Regions from separate parts of the Homo sapiens genome. Here region 1 is linked to region 2. The links are contacts of gene promoters, found by promoter capture Hi-C in blood cells and fetal thymus (Javierre and others, 2016). All regions are on one chromosome and are shown on one strand. The core of a region is centred on a gene start or on the middle of the fragment in contact, and the rest is flanking DNA. Distances in the headings are between cores, read along the strand shown.

Region 1 (5,150 bases), core at 278-2,777, about 10 Mb after region 2:
TCCAGGCACCAAGCACCCGCTGGCTCCTGATACCTGCCTTTCTGGCTGTGGTGTGTCTCTGGCCTGGCGCCTGTTTCTGAGTCCCTGGAGAGAGCAGGTTCCTCGCAGGTGGCAGGCAGCCCTGTTTGTGTGTGCATGAGCCTGTGGGGGCACCTGGAGCTGAGCGGTGGCCTGTGCTGTCACCACCCGGGGTGGCAGGGCAGGGTCTGGCACTGCCACAGCTCCTGACAGAAGCTGCCTAGGCCTGGGTTGGCTCGGGCTTCTCGGCCAGGCCCTTCCCCAGCACTTCCTGCCCAGCCCCAGCTGCAGGACCTGCTGAAATCTGTGCTGTGGGAGCCCTGTCTCTGAGGGGTCACTGCAGTGACTCCAGAAAACCTGAGTCTCCTGATTCCAGGAGCACCGCTTGCAGCCTGCCACGTGCATGACCCAGCATGACCCGGACTCCTGAGCCAGGACCGAGTCCCCCTGACAGCGGGGAAGCGGCGGACCCTGGGGGCTGGCACCCGCCGTGGCCCTCCCCAGCCCACTGTGGCACTGAGGGGCTGCTCCCCTGGGAATGGCCCCTTCCTAGAGGCAGCCCTGGCCTGGCTTCGAGAGGGGCTCTGGGAACAGGCGGCCCCGGGTAGCTGACCACACCTGACCAGGCCAGTCTTTGGGAAGCCGCCCTCTCAGCCTATGCACTGCAGGGACACTGGGTGGAGAGGGCTGTGCCTCAGTGCCCCTGCAGGGCGGTGCAGCAGCTGGCCGTGCAGGGGGAGGGGGCCTTGCCTTCTGGCTCAGGGAGGAAGCGGCTGCTTTCAGCTGCCTTCGCCTTGCCTCCTGAGGCGGCTTTGGAACCCTCCTGAGGTTTGTGGCCCTGAAGTTCCTTCCTGAGACCCCGCAGGGGACTAAGCCCTCGGCCCAGGGGCACCGGGGAGGGCAGAACCTCAAGACAGGGGCCCGGGACACAGGACAGAGTGTGTGGGGCAGGTGTGCAGGCTGTGCCCAAGGGGCCTCGGGGTTGAAGGGGCTCTTGGAGATGATGTCGACATCGCGGTTCCTGAGCGGGTGCCCAGATCTGGATGAGCTGTTTTCTGGAGAAAGCAGGAAAGTGACGTCATTTTGTGGCTTCAGATTGACCGCAGCCTGGCAGAGAGGGAGTGGTGGCAGGAAGTGAAGCTGCTGGCTTCCCAGTCACGGCCTCCATGATCCACGTGTGGCAGCAAGAATCACAGCTGCATCATGACACCCAGAGGGAAAGCAGCTCAAGCTGCAGTTTAAGGCGACTCCACGGAGGGCCCTGGCTTAGTTGTTGCACAGCATGGGGTCAGATGGATGCCCTGGAAGAGTCAGCAGAGACCCCCTGGCCTTTGGAGTTTGTCTCTGAGCGAGAGACACTGTTGGGATGACCGGCGAGTGGCGTTGGGTCCACATGGGGGCCCTGGTCCGGCTGAGTCTACTGAGCACAGGCCTGCCCCTTGCCACCCAGCTCTGCCCATATGTGGCCGTCATTCCTGGGCTTCACCTGGGAAACGTCCTTTGAGGCAGCTCAGCTTTTCCACAGTGGGTCACGTTGTTTGCTGCTGGAGACTGGCTGAGTCTGTGCTTCCAGTATAGGAAGGTTTAGGAGGCGGTCAGCAGGCCTCTCCTGTGGCCACTGTGCCCGAGGCAGGTGCCTGGGGTGAGAGGGATTCTTCCGGATGTGGCCGTGCACTGCCCAGCAGGCCTGGAGTGAACGTCTGTGTGGAGTCCGGGCTCCCATCCAGCATCCCTTAAGGGTCCTGATGGCTGGAGCTGGGGGAGGCAGGTATGGCAAGGGGCTTCCTGCACGCAGGAAAACTGGAGACCCCTGGTGAAAGAGCCAGGTGTGCACCTGCAGAGCCAGGCATGGGTCCACAGAGCCTGTCAAGCCTGGTTTACACCACAGAGCTGGGTATGCGCTGAGAACCAGGTGTGCACGGAGAGCCAGGTGTACACTGCAGAGCCGCGTGTGCACTGAGAGCAGGTGTGCGCTGAGAACCAGGTGTGCAGAGAGAGCCAGGTGTGCACGGAGAATCAGGTCTGCAGAGAGAGCCAGGTGTGCACTGAGAACCAGGTGTGCACGGAGAATCAGGTCTGCAGAGAGAGCCAGGTGTGCACTGAGAACCAAGTGTGCAGAGTCAGGTGTGCGCTGCAGAGCCGGGTGTGCACTGAGAACCAGGTGTGCAGAGAGAGTCAGGTGTGCGCTGCAGAGCCGGGTGTGCACTGAGAACCAGGTGTGCAGAGAGAGTCAGGTGTGCGCTGCAGAGCCGGGTGTGCACTGAGTCAGGTGTGCAGAGAGTCAGGTGTACACTGCAGAGCCGCGTGTGCACTGAGAGCAGGTGTGCATGGAGAGCCAGGTGTCTGTTGAGAACCAGGTGTGTGCAGAGAGCCAGGTGTGCACTGCATATCTAAGTGCTCATGTGGAGTCTTGGGCTGGGCAGGTGCTGCCCAGGACCCTGGCTCTCTGGCTGTCTTCTGTGCATTTGGGGATGGGAGAAGGGGCTCGGCTCTGGCTGGAGGGCAGCCAGGCAGACTTGCCAGCCAGCACCGCCAGGTGATAAGAGCTGGTGCCCACAGGTACTCAGCAAATGTCTGCATTTTGGGGAGGGCTGGAGAAAATGAAGGCCATGCCCTCTCTGCAAGGCTCCGCACAGGCCCTGTTTCCCAGTCCTTCAGCCACAGGGTGTCCCGGCAACAAGGGTGCCAGGTCGCCTGCACCCTGACTGTCTCCTGCGGAAAGGACAGCGCCTGCTCCTTGTCCTCCAGTAGCTGCTGGACTCCGGGGTCTGGGTGCTCTGGCGCCCGGCGGCTGGGTCCCCACTACAAGGTAGACACCAGCCTTGAATCCAACTGTCGAGGAAATGGGGTGGGCGGCGGAGGCTGGGGAGATCGGGAGGAAGGGAGGTATGGGCTTGAGAGACAGGAACCCACCCTCTGCAAGTGCAGTGGCCTGTCCCCTCCAGAACGCTCTCATTCTTCGTGCTGAAGGGAGCTGGGGGCGTGGCAGGCCTGCGAGACGAATGGGCGCTATCAGCTCAGGGCTCTGCCTCGGAGGAGCCACCCGGAGGCAGCACCCATGGGTGTGGGGGCTTGGCCACAGGGGACGTCAGGCCTCCTCGGTGCAGCACCAGATGCGTCTAACAGCCTCCGCCCCGTGGGCGCCCACTCAGACTTGCTGCTCAGGTGCCTAGAGCAGAAGCCACCTCCTCAGAGGCCAGCGCGCCAGCCTGGCACCACGGGGACGCTCCCAGGGGGTGCCCAGAGGGAACGTGCGCATCGGGCGGGGTACTGCGGCGCGTGTGGGCCGTGAGCCCCGCCCTGTAGTCGGACACTGGAGTCCCGGATCCTACAGATCTGAAAGGCTGAGTCGGATGCAGCAAAGGCGAAGCGGGGTTCGCAGCCCCAGACTCTTGGGCGGGGGGGTCAGCGAGCAACCGGGAGGGGCGCCGCGGGCCATTCGCCGCTTCTCCTGGGCCGAGGGCGCAGGCCCCTGCCGCGGGGGCCCCTCGGACTCCACGACTTCGCGGACGCGCGCCCACCGCCATAGCTGAGGTCCCGGGCCAGGCGGCGCGTGGGTGGCTGAGCGGGAGCGCGTCCAGCCAGGCGTGGAGGCCGCGCGGGGCCGGGGTCGAGCCCAGCATGGCGGGGGGGGTGCGGGGCAGTGGCCCGGACAAGGGCATGGGGCCGGAAGAGGCGGGGCCGTTGCCAGGAGACGAGACGGAATGGGCGGGGCGCGGGCGGGGGCCGTTGCCGGGAGACGAGACGGAATGGGCGGGGCGCGGGCGGGGCCGTTGCCGGGAGACGAGACGGAATGGGCGGGGCGCGGGCGGGGCCGTTGCCGGGAGACGGGGCGGGGGCGGGGCCGGGCCATTGCCCGGAGACGGGGCGGGGCAGGGGTAGCGCGGGCTCCTCCGTGCATCGCGGCGAAGTCTTCTTGGGCGTGGGTTCCTGGATCGGATCGTCTGCCCGCGGGAGGGGCGGGACTGCTTAGTTACGCTGGGGAGGGCCTGAGAAATCCAGGGAGAAAAGAAGGTGGCTTGACCTCATCTATTCGCAGTCTGCATTTTACCAAGCGCCGACCCTTGTATCTCGTGAACTGAAGCCCTCCATCCTTCCCCGCTGATCTAACAAGAATCTACAGAACTCGGTCAATAATTTATTAGTAAAATATACATTTCTCATTATTAAAGAATAAAAGCTTTCAGCCCTGCTGAACACACATCTGAGGTCTCAAGAAAACCAGACAAGATAGCTGACTCTCCCACATAGCCCTTTCCATAAAGGCGATTCCTAAGCTTAAACACACACAAAGCTGGGGCTGTCCCTCTTGAATCCCATGGGAAACAGGCCCCAAGATCAGGGGACCTGGAGTCGGGAGCTTGGGGTGCAGTCTGCTCACTGACACCCTCTCGAAGAGCACGCAGGGGAACCTGGTCCTGGGATGGAGTCTTTCTGGGGATGCCCCACGTCTGTGCTGCCTGGAACCGGGTGCCCAGGGCAGCCGGCTCAGCAGGCCCCAGAGCAGGGGCAGGTGTGGCTGGGAGGGGCTGTATATGTGGCCTCCTGAACACAGCGGGAGACCAGCGGCCACCTGGAGACACGTACACACACACGCACCCGCAAGCACACAGCTCATCCCAGCCTGGTGCCTGCAGACAGCTGGGGCTACACGTGGCCAAGGCGGGGAGAAGGAATTGGCTGAGGGCGTGGACAGCAGGAGCCTCTCAGGTAGATGCATTCCTGAGGTTAGAACAGCAGCTGAGCCTGCAAAGTCAGGGTCTAGGGCTGAGCGGCACTAGCTGGACCGTGGAATGCTGGAACGCATGGCTTCTCTGCCGCAACTTCTCCAAATTTCCACACAGGCGCAGGTGCCCCCCTAGGGTGCTGTGGGAGCTCCGGCTCCTTGCTTCCTCTGGATGGGGGGCTTCAGGGCAACCTTTGGGCCAACAGCACCCTGGGAGGAGGAAAAGATAATTGATGTTGAAAAACTACCTGCTATAAAAGGTATATAAAGGGTACAACGAAATTTTACGTCCTTTAACATCTCTTAAAATGTGGATTCTTGGTTCATCCACCAACAACATGGCCCATGCACACAATGGCAGGTGTGGCAGTCACAATATATACAGCTCACAGAGGACAGACTTTCT
Region 2 (5,151 bases), core at 875-3,374:
AACTAATTTACTTACATAATAATTTATGGGTAAGGCAGGCCTATACACATAAAGTGATTACAGTTCAATAGATGTGTTTACCCTCCATAGCCTAATAATTATGGTCACTGAGATTTACTCTGCTATAGAACACATATAAACAGACAACGTTGACAAATAAGGATTGGTTTCTATGGAGTAACATGGGCCTTCCAAAATAATTGGAACACAATTCCTGATTTCAGAACTGTCAAAAACTCTTGAAGGCAAAAAAAGAAATTATGAGGCTCTGAGAAATCAGAAATCAAAACATAAAAATAAAACATAAGTAAAACCATGTTGAAAGAAATCCAGAAGAGAAATTATACAATCTAACCTTTTCACCCCAAATCTGTTCCTCCTTTTTCTTGCCACTCCAACATTGATGAAATGTAGAGTAATTGAAATTTACTTCGGAGATACAGCAAGGGACTCCAAAAGGCCATGGAGAGAGAATTTCAACTAAAATTGAAAAGCCATACAGAGGTCTGCATAAAAAACAAACAGCACACCACAAATCAAAACCTTTAAGATAAAAACTTAATTAGCATCTACAGGTTGAATGAGCTAGTAACTTATGCCAATCTTATCATTACATTAGCTGAAAAGAAAACGAACTGACAGATTAATCAAAGAACAAAGCAGTAGCTTCACTTCAGCAAAAGCTCCATAGGATCACCAAAGAATAACTGGTGTGACTACCGTTTTCTCACTGGTGGATTAGTTTTTGGCAAGATTTTTAATGTCTAAATTTAAGTTAAACTTCAGTTTAAAGAAATTAAGATTAACTTCATTTAGTCACAGCACACTTCCAAAACGGTCAAGCTTAGTACTGCTGAACAGCTGTAGTTGCATAAAAACAACGCATAGTCCTAAGTAGGGAAATGGGAAAGGGCTTTAAATACAAAAACAAAAAAAACATGCACACCCGATAAGGGCACATCTGAATCCCATCCTTCTTATCCTATCATAACACAAAACAGCTACGGTTTTCTGGGAAACATCCTGGACCGCTAGGGGAAAATAACACCAGACATTTCAATTCACTGTAACGAACTCTCATCAATAATAATAACCTTTAGCTGTTGTGACAACACGACATAAATCAAAATTAAATTGAATTTTTAAAATTGTTAGTTCCTACGTTTAAAAAAAAGTTGTTTTAAATACATTCTGTTCTTTCAAAACTGAATTTCCTCAGATCACACAATTTAAGACGCCTTTATGTCTTCTTCCGCTTGTCACACGTCTTTCGGGTTCTGACCAGCACATCAAGGGGACTCTAAGCAGGCCACGTGGTTAGTGTTTGCTAGAACTTGTTTAGCTTCAGATCCAGTCATCGAGCATGCTAGGCTTGGCTACTCGCGCTCCACACAGTTTATCCAAAGATCTAAACCCCGAATGAACCTGAATAGTTATTTGCTACAATGTCTTTCTCAAATCTCACATGTTCCTAAAATAAGGGTGCCCATGCAGTAGAGACGGATCCGGGCAGGATCATTAGATAAAATACGAAGGCTTTAAACGTCCTTCTCCCAACAATCAGCCTGGGACCGGCGTCGGGGCAGCAGCCTCACCAAGATTCGGAGCGACATCCTCGCCAGGATTCGAAACACCTAGGAGACCCGCGCCCGGCTGACTCCCAGCCCCTGGGACCCCGTGAAGACGCAAACCTCGGGACGCCTCCCGCAGAACCACCTGTCAGAGCCAAGCAACAGTCCCCGCCCCGGAGCCTCCGAGCTCCTGCTCGAAGGCAATGACAGCAGGAGACCCCGCTCCCTCGGGGTTCTCGCGGCCATAGGCGCCGCAGTCCACTGCCCTCCGGCTAAAGAGGTCCCGGGCCATCACCTGCCCGCCTACCGACCACGCCCGACCCTCCACTGAACTGAGTCTCCGTCCGGATCAGCCGGCCCGCCACGAACCCAGCTCCAGTCTCCGGCCGCTCCTTCTTATCCGCCCTGTCCTGCCGCGTCGCCGCCGTCCGAGCCGGCAGCCTGCTACTTACCTCCTGACAACTGCATGGAGTAAACCACACCGCCTTGTTAAATGCCGTCGCCGCCGCCGCCGTCTTCGTCACCGTCACAGTCGCCGCCGCCATCTTTGTTGTGTCTCCGACTCCCTTCCCGCCCCCCTGCCTTGCTCAAGTCTCGCGTGAGCAGGATGGAGGGCGAAAGCGAGGAGGGGCCTGTTTGTCTCTCTTGGGGTTCCGTAGGCAGCAGGGGGCAGGGATTAAGGGGGGGTGTGTGCGGGGCGGGTACTGAGTGGGCGGGGCCTTGCTCGGGTAACTCCCAGGGGCTGGCTAGAGACCCAGAGGCGCAGAGCGGAGAGGCCTGCGGCGAGGATGGAGGGCCTGGCAGTGCGGTTGCTGCGCGGCAGCAGGCTGGTGAGTGCGTTCGAGGCTGGCGTCCTGGGGGCCCAGGGCGACCTTGGCCCCTGGAATCGCAGCTGGCAGAGCCTTCTAACGGGCCTCGGGGCGCCGGCCTGAGCCCCGCTCCACGTCCTGGGTCCCCAGACTCTTTACCCGCGGGCAGTCTATGACCCCGACCCCCTTCAGGCCTCTGGTGGAGGCAGCTGGTGGCAAGGGGGTCGGGGCTGTCTAGAAGCTGCTTTGGCGGAGCAAGTACCTTGAGTGGAGTCGGAGGGTCGCGTCCGCAAGATGTCCTTTGCAGGCCGTTGCGTCCTGAGAGCCACCGAGTCTGGATCTCTGGATCTCTGGATGCATTTTGCACAGATGTCACCTCCCTGATGCCCTAACGCACCTTTCCCGAGTGATTACATTTCACACCCCCTCCCCCAAAAAAGATAGTTAAAATATAGGCCCAGTCTCATTCTGAGCAGGTGTCTCCCTGTCCTTCCTTCCGCGGCCCCGCTCAAAGGTAGTAAGGGACTTCGGAGTTGTTCGGGCTTCCCGGCCAGGGACAGAGTTCCCTCTGCCCCTTATCTCATGTCTGGAGCCTGGGTATCTTCCGTGGATAGACTCACCGCCGCCCAGGGGAGCCGGAGCCGGTGCCGGTCCCTCTTCCATGAACTTAAGCTGAAACCAGCCTCTTGTTGTGCTTAATTCTTATCTGTGCACCCACACAAACTGTTAACAGCCCCTGTGTTAACATCCTATGCTCTTCACCCCTTGGACCTATTATATAGCATGCTTTTCAGAACATACACATTTGGATACACTTGTATTTGTCAGTACACTTCACTGGGAATTTTCCCACTGCTTACGTGTGCTTTTAATGTTTCCTTTGCATTTGCTTTAATGAGTTAGGCTTTCCAACTGCTGCTTCAGTCTTATGCCCAGAGGCAGAACTCTGACCCTTTTTCTTATTAGAGATAATTAATGTTATTTGACTGTTTTACAGGCCTGAAGTGCAATAAAAAACAGTAAGTGATTATTGTTTAATACTGTTTATAATTGTTGGTTAATAACTTAGCAAAGAAAATTTCTTTGGTTTTACAATTTGACTCTGTTTTAGAGCCAAAATTTATTGACCGCATACTCTGTGGTAGGCACGTTCTCGTTCTACCTGAGTCATCTCAATTCTCACAACCATCTTAACAAGTAGTTTAATCTTGCAGATGCTGAAAAAGAATAATAGCTTGCCCACAGATAGAAAGGGATAGAGCTGGTGGTATTCGAACTCTGGTCTGATTCTAAACTTAACCTTCATATACTACTGTCTCCCCGTCCTTAGAGATATCAAAAACCTATTTTGTTTGAACTTTTGGTTTATTGTGGCTTATAGTCCTTTATAGTTTTTGAAGCTCTTTTACATAAATTAGCTAAATTGATTGAACATCGACTGTAGCATAGTGGTTAAGAACGTAGGTTCTGTAGCTAGGCTGCTTGGATCTGAACCCAGGCCCTCTCACTTCCTAGTGGTATAACCTTGGACAGGTTATGCTTTGGGTCTCAGTTTCCTGGTCTGTAAATGGAGAGAATAATTGTGCGTATTCCAAAATTGTTGTGAAAATTAAATGAGCTCATATGTTCATGTAAGGCACTTAGAATAGTGCTCGGAATGTAGTCAGCTCTCGGTAAATATCAGCTCTTACTGCCATGCACGAAGCATTGTGTGCTATGCCAGATGTAATAATGAATAAAATACTCTACCTCCAAGAAGTTTATCTTTTAGAGGAAAGGTTAGAACTATGTGCAACTAACCCCATGTCATGTAGGTGTGGAACAAATCCTAAGGGGCTACAGTCTGCGTGCAGATTCAGAAGATAGAAATGACTAGGACCATTGGGGAAGTGATAGGCTCTTTGGAAGCTGGGTTAGAGTTTAGGAGGGGAAAGGAGTGGTCAGAAAACTGCAACAAAAGGGGACTGAGGCCACTTTAGGGAATTGGGGGTTGATCCTTTTGGATTGTTAGGAGCCATTGAAGGTCAAGAGCTTTGGAGTTTCCTCATGCCACAGTGTAGGTAGATGGCTGTGGACACAAGTGGCATGGAGTGGGGAGAAATGCAAGGTAGGGCTAATTTTGGTTTCTATCCAGAGGCAAATGGAAAGCTAGCATTTACTCACTTATTGTAGACCAGGGACAGCATTTTACACCCACTACCCTATTTACTCTTCCTGTAAACCTCTGAAGTAGGTATATTAGTGGCTTCATCTTGCAAATGAGGAACTCGGAGGCAATAACCAGTGTTCCCAAGTCACATAACAATCAGATTGCAATGCTGACCTTCAGCCTACCCCTGCCTTCTCAGAAGGTCTCTCCTAGTCCTGCAGATGGATTAGAACTGTCCTGCCCATTTGGTCTAAGCAACCCAATTAGTGGAGAATTGGACCTTGTAGTTAACCTGTGGTTCCAAAGCATTTTAATGTAGCTTGATATCTTTTTTTTTTTTTTTTTGAGACGGAGTCTTACTCTGTCGCCCAGGTTGGAGTGCTGTGGTGCGATCTCAGTTCACTGTAACCTATGCCACCCGGATTCGAGCGATTCTCCTGCCTCAGCCTCCCGAGTAACTGGGATTACAGGCGCCTGCCACCTTGCCTGGCTAATTTTTGTAGTTTTAGTACAGATGGGGTTTCACCATCTTGGTCAGCAAGATGGAAATGGTCTCAAACTCCTAACTTCATGATCCACCCGCCATGGCCTCCCAAAATGCTGGGATTACAGGCGTGAGCCA

What was found. The method cuts DNA at HindIII sites, captures the fragments that hold promoters and counts their contacts. A CHiCAGO score of 5 or more calls a contact.
Region 1: a fragment that was not itself captured here is called in contact with the fragment with the promoter of IKZF5 in region 2 in 1 of 17 cell types (fetal thymus); the score reaches 5.3 in fetal thymus.

The regions. Positions count from the first base shown.
Region 1 is chr10:133,258,280-133,263,429 of GRCh38, forward strand. ADAM8 (ADAM metallopeptidase domain 8) reads right to left here. Exons shown (of 23, transcript NM_001109.5): 23 at 4,144-4,954. The coding sequence ends at 4,877. Among named protein-coding and RNA genes, the nearest start is that of MIR202HG, 13 kb to the left of the region's middle. RefSeq lists enhancers at 1-58, 1,057-1,106, 4,045-5,021 and a silencer at 3,399-3,728. The HindIII fragment of the contact is 5,337 bases long and covers 1-4,196 here.
Region 2 is chr10:123,006,671-123,011,821 of GRCh38, forward strand. IKZF5 (IKAROS family zinc finger 5) reads right to left here and starts at 2,125. Exons shown (of 5, transcript NM_001372123.1): 1 at 2,024-2,125; 2 at 356-506. It overlaps ACADSB (acyl-CoA dehydrogenase short/branched chain), which reads left to right and starts at 2,336. Exons shown (of 11, transcript NM_001609.4): 1 at 2,336-2,401. The coding sequence starts at 2,360. RefSeq lists enhancers at 1,402-1,631, 1,912-2,241. The HindIII fragment of the contact is 4,856 bases long and covers 842-5,151 here.